Linked DNA regions of Homo sapiens: region 1 is linked to region 2. Evidence: promoter capture Hi-C in human tissues and cell types (Jung and others, 2019). All regions are on one chromosome and are shown on one strand. Each heading gives the region's core, a stretch centred on a gene start or on the middle of the fragment in contact. The rest is flanking DNA. Distances are from core to core; before and after follow the strand shown. Region 1 has its middle 36 kb from the start of MIR5100. Region 2 holds the start of RET (ret proto-oncogene).

What was found. The method cuts DNA at HindIII sites, captures the fragments that hold promoters and counts their contacts. A contact is called where the count stands out against the background at its distance.
Region 1: a contact is called between a fragment that was not itself captured here and the fragment with the promoter of RET in region 2, in 2 of the 25 tissues and cell types used here (liver and mesendoderm cells).

The regions. Positions count from the first base shown.
Region 1 is chr10:43,032,609-43,035,445 of GRCh38, forward strand. No RefSeq gene overlaps it. Among named protein-coding and RNA genes, the nearest start is that of MIR5100, 36 kb to the left of the region's middle. The HindIII fragment of the contact is 4,891 bases long and covers 1-2,837 here.
Region 2 is chr10:43,075,712-43,078,538 of GRCh38, forward strand. It overlaps RET (ret proto-oncogene), which reads left to right and starts at 1,358. Exons shown (of 20, transcript NM_020975.6): 1 at 1,358-1,620. The coding sequence starts at 1,548. RefSeq lists enhancers at 415-681, 547-1,404, 1,713-2,703 and promoters at 897-1,580, 1,282-1,580. The HindIII fragment of the contact is 24,069 bases long and covers 1-2,827 here.

The sequences.
Region 1 (2,837 bases), core at 181-2,680, 43 kb before region 2:
GAAAAGAATCCAGAAATTTATATAGAATCAAAATGATAATATTAACAAAAAGATAGAAATGATAAAGAACCAAACAGAAATTCTAGAGCTGAAAAATGCAATAATGAATTGGAAAATTCACTAGAGGGGTTCAACAGCAAACTTAAACAGGTAGGGACTTGAAGACAGGTCACTTAACACTAGTCTGAGGAGCAAAAAGGAAAAAGAACGAAGAAAAGTAAACAGAGCCTAAGAGATTTATAGGACACCATAAAGCCAACCAATATATGCATAATAGGAGTCTCAGAATGAGGAGAGAGGGAAAAGGGTAAAAGAGTTTACTTGAAAAAGTAACAGCCAAAAACTTGCCAAACTTTTATATCCAAAGAAATTGATATAAAAATACAAGAAGTTCAACAAATTCCATTAGGATAAGCCCAAACAAGCCCACAGAAAGACACACTATAATCAAGCCACATTATAATCAAACCTTTGAAAGACAATGTCAAAGGGATAGTCTTGAAAGCATCAAGAGAAAAGTGACTCACCAAATACAAGAGAGCCACAGTAAGATTAGCAATGATTTTCCTAGAAGAAGCCCTGCAGACCAGAAAGCAATGCAGTGATATATTTAAAGTGCTGAAAGAAAGAAAAAGCTGTCAACTGAACATTCTATACCTAGCACAACTGTCCTTTTAAAATGAGGAAGAAATTAAGATATTCTCAGATAAACAAAAGCTGAGGGAGCTCGTTACCACTAGACTTACCCTACAAAAAATATTAAAAGGAATTATTTAAGTTGAAATTAAAGGATGCTAAATAGTAACTCAAAGCCATACAAAAATATAAAGTTATGCAATAAAGCTAAATACATAGACAAATATAAAAACCAGTATTATTATCATTTTGGTTTGTAATGCCACATTTTATTATTTTATAGAGTTTATAAGACAAAGGCATATAAAATAATTATGGATCTATGTTAATGGGAACATATATAAAGATGTAATTTGCGACATACCTCAATAACATAAAATGGGAAGAGCCAGAAGGTTGTAGAGCTTTTATATTCAATTGAAGTTCATTTGTTATCAGTTTAAAGTAGATTGTAATAACTTTAGGAGTTTTATGTAATTCACATAGTAATAGTAAAGAAAATATCTATGGAATACATACAAAAAAAATGAGAAGGCAGCCCTGATGTATGGCACATATATATTTATAATTGTTATATCTTTTTGTTGAATTGACCCTTCTATCATTACGTAATGCCCATCTTTGTCTCTTGTAACAGTTATAAGCTTAAAGTATATCTTATCTGACATTAATATAATCACGCTTGCTCCTTTTAGTTAATATTTGCATGCAATTTTTTCCCATTATTTTACTGTCAACCTGCACACATGTCCTGTGCCCTTAAATCTAGTGCATTGTAGACAGTATACAGTTGGATCATAGTTTTTCTTTTAATCCATTCTGCCATTCTAGGTCTTTTAATGGGGGAAGTTAATACATTTACATTTAATTAATGTAATTAATAATAAAGAAGGACTTACTATTGCTGTTTAGTAGTTTGTTTTCTGTATGTCTTATAGCTTTTTTGTCCTTCATTTCCTCCCTTCCTGCCTTCCTTTGTGCATAGCTGACTTTTTGTATTGACATCTTTTGAATACCTTCTTATTTCCTTCTATATGTATTCTATAGATATTTTATTTGTGGTTACTATGCCCAACACCACTAATCATTAGGAAAATGCAAATCAAAAACCACAGTGAGATACTATCTCATACTCATTAGGTTGGCTACTATTTAAAAAGCAAAAATGAAAATAAAAAATGTTGTCAAGAATTTGGATTGGGATGTAAAATGGTACAGCTGCTGTAGAAAACAATATAGCAATTCCCCCCACCTTCTCCAAGAATTACCATATGATCCAGCAATTCTGCTTCTGGGTATATACTCAAAAGAATTAAAAGCAAGGACTTCATCAGGTTTTTATACACCTATACTCATATCAGTGTTATTCCCAATAATCAAAAGGTGAAAGCAACCGTAGGGTTCACTAATAGATGAATGGATACACGAAGTGTGGTATATCTGTATGATGGAATATTATTCAGCCTTAAAAAAGAAGTAAATTATGATACATGCCACAACAAGGATAAAACTTGAAGACATTATGCTAAGTGAAATAAGCAAGACACAAAAAGACAAATATCGCACAATTCCATTTACATGAGGTGCCTAGAGTAGTCAAATCCACAGAGAGAAAATAGAATGGTGGTCGCCAGGGGCTGGCAGGGGGGAGAATGAGGAGTTGTTGTTTAATGAGTATAGAGTATCAGTTTGGGAAGATGAAAATATTCAGAGCTGAATGATGGTGATGGTTGTACAACAATATGAATAATGTACTTAATGCCATTGAACTGTACACTTACAAATAGTCAAAATGGTTATTTTATGTTATGTGTATTTACCACAATTTTTTAAACAGCTTTTGAAGTAAAAGATAAAAATGAATTAGATGACTGACTCGGATGAGGAAACCAGCTGAGCTAAGGAAAAGATGAAACGACTGTAATGAAACAAAAAGACTTTTCTCTGCTGAATACCAAGGGGCTTAGGGAAGGCACAGCTCCTCCTTAGGTGAGGAGTAGAATGAGCAAGGAGCAGAGATGTATCACTGGGGATCTGCACCCAAGGAGGCAGGTCACACAGTTGAGGTTCACACTTTGGAAAGGATGCAACCACTGAGGTTACATGGAAAGAAAGGAGAGACAAAAGGCTGAAATTAACCTGGAACAAAAGTAGCAAAATGAAGCTCAGAATAATGAGTTATTGGAGGAAATGGAAACTAA
Region 2 (2,827 bases), core at 108-2,607:
GCAGGCAGCCGGAGTCCAGTGGCCCACAGTGTCTCTCCTGGGCTGGCAGGCCTGTGCCCCGGCCACCTGCCCCTCAGCAAGCCAGGTCTGGACATCACGGTTGGCTGAGTGCAAGCCAGCCTCTGTCTTGGCAGCTCCCCCTCCTGCCTGTGAGGGTGACTTCACTTTGACTTCATATCTGCAGTGATGTGCAGATCACTTATTCAGCCCTGAGCTCAGCCAGGCAAGAGGGCGGGGTTCTGCACACAGCAAGCAAGGGAGCGGCTGGCTCAAGGGTGCCCTGGGCCCAGGTTCCCTGGCTTTTCCTCCTCAAGGGCCCATGGGCTTCCCTTCTTCCATCCCTCTGCGCCTAAGTGCAGGCCAGACCTCAAAAAGCAGCCGGGGATGGGGCGAGAACAGAGGACTTCCCCACTGAGCCCACATCCAACCTCACCCAGAACCCCTTCTCAGGTCCAGTTGCTGCTCCCTATTAGGGGTAAATGTGTTTATGCGCATCATTTCCATCATTTCTTTGGGGGAAAATTGGATTCTTTCCTCCTCCTCGCTACTCGCTCTCCGACTCTGCCAGCCCATCTCCTGAGAGTTCTCCTGTGTAAGGGATGCAAGGGCCACCAGCACCAGGTCTCTGAAAGGACGCCGGAGCCAGTTTCCGGTTTCCAAGGGTTGGACCAGTGCTGGAGGGGGGAATCACAAACTGCCCTTCCAGGACCCTACCCTCTCTACTACCCCAGGATGCTGAAAAAGGCTATTCTGCCTCTCTTCCCCTGCTCAGCTCTTCCCCGCCTCCTGCCTCCGGCCCCAGCAGAGGCCGCGCTCCCACTGCGCCTCTCGCCTCTGAGAAATGGCGCAGCAAGCGCTCCGCGGAGAGCCTGGAGGCGGGGCGCCCTTCTCTGAGTCCGCGGGGTCGCACCCCGAGCCAGTCGGCCAGACCTGCATCCCGCGTAGCATCCCTGCCCTCTCTGTGCAGCGGAAAGGGCAAAAGGCAGGGACTGCAAGCGGGCGCGCACCGGGTAGGAAGAGCGGCTCTGCGTAGGTGCGCGGACCCGGGCTCCTGGGTTCCATCCCCGCCGCGCACCTCGGGGTCCGCACCCGGCTCCTGCCGGGCCCTTTTCGGCCGCACCCCGCTCCCGCACCCCGCTCCTCCCCAAGCCCCACCCGGCCCAAGCCGCGCGTCCCGCACTGAGCTCCTACACGCGCCGCGCCCCGGCCGCACCCCGCGCAGCCAGAGCAAGCACTGGAGCCCCGCCCCTTCCCGCACCCCACCCGCCTCCGGCCCCGCCTGGCCCACCCCTGGACCGCCCCCGCCCCGCCCCGCCCCTACCCGCTCCTCCGGCGCAGCCGGCGCTTACCTCGCTTCAGTCCCGCGACCGAAGCAGGGCGCGCAGCAGCGCTGAGTGCCCCGGAACGTGCGTCGCGCCCCCAGTGTCCGTCGCGTCCGCCGCGCCCCGGGCGGGGATGGGGCGGCCAGACTGAGCGCCGCACCCGCCATCCAGACCCGCCGGCCCTAGCCGCAGTCCCTCCAGCCGTGGCCCCAGCGCGCACGGGCGATGGCGAAGGCGACGTCCGGTGCCGCGGGGCTGCGTCTGCTGTTGCTGCTGCTGCTGCCGCTGCTAGGCAAAGGTGAGTTCTGCCGGCCGCCGGCTCCCGCAGGGGCCAGGGCGAAGTTGGCGCCGAGCAGCGGAGCGGGCGCGTTCAGAAGCGCCTTTCTGTTTGCCGTGGGCAGCGGGCTGTGCGGTCGCCGGCCACCCGGCCTCGGCTGGGAGCGCAGTGGCTGCGGCGGGCGGCGGGCGAAGGGCAGGACGCCTCGGGCCGGGCGCCTCGGGCCGGGGCTGGGCGGGTCTCGGGCGGGAGCGGAGCGCGGGCCGGGCCGCGGGGGTCGGTGCTCAGAACCCTAGCCATAGCCGCAGGTCTCAATCTGGCCGCGCCCTGCGCCAAAGCCGCGTCCTGGAGCAAACGGGACAGCCGTTTCGGGGCCGACCTGGCGGACGGGTCAGGGAGCCCCGAAAGCCCGCGATTCGTGCGGAGAGTTCTGTTTCGGCAGGAGACGGCTCCGTCCTGGTTTCCTTTTCCCGCTCAGCGTCCGTGCGTTCCTCCCCCAGCTCTGCCGTCCTGGCCAGCCGAGGGATTCGGAGGCTCTTTTGAAAAGATTGCTTTTCCCTCGTGCGTTTTTGCCGCCCTGTCTTTAAACACCTAAAAACCGTGGTTTCTGGGGTGGCTCCCCCCGAGGGGCCGCCGTGATAGGCGTCCCACCCGGCAGCCCTGGAGTCGTGTGGCGCTGCCTGGCAGAGATGCTGAAGATGCGGCCATAGGAGGCCCAGGGCTTGGGGTGGGGCAGGGGTTTGCGCCGCCAGCCAGCGTTGGTGCTGGGCCTGGTGAAACCTCAGGTGCCTTAGGATCCCAGCATTAGGTGTGGCCTTGCAAAGATGGTCATCGACCCCACCCAAACTCTGGCAGAGTGAGCCGCAAGGCTGTGGAATCTTTGACCCCTTGGCACGCGTTTAAGTGTCCCTCAAACTGGCCCTGACTTGATCCCCTCCAAGCGCTTGTGTATGAACCAAGTTTCCCTCTAAGAGGGAAGGAGCCCTGGCCATCCTCCCTCACTCCTTACAAAGGGCTTTCTCTCCCCACAGCCTTTGGGAACAGAAGAAGCCATGGTCAGTCACCCTGTCTCTGGCCCCAGGCCCTGCACAAACTGAGTTTCCAGGCCTGCCTGAGACTTCATTTGTGTGACCTGCGCCTCAGCTCAGCATATGCTGAGGCCAGAGCGGGTCCCCAGTCCACCTAGCGAGGGACAGGGGAGAAGCCCTTGCCTTTCTATCTTTTCTGA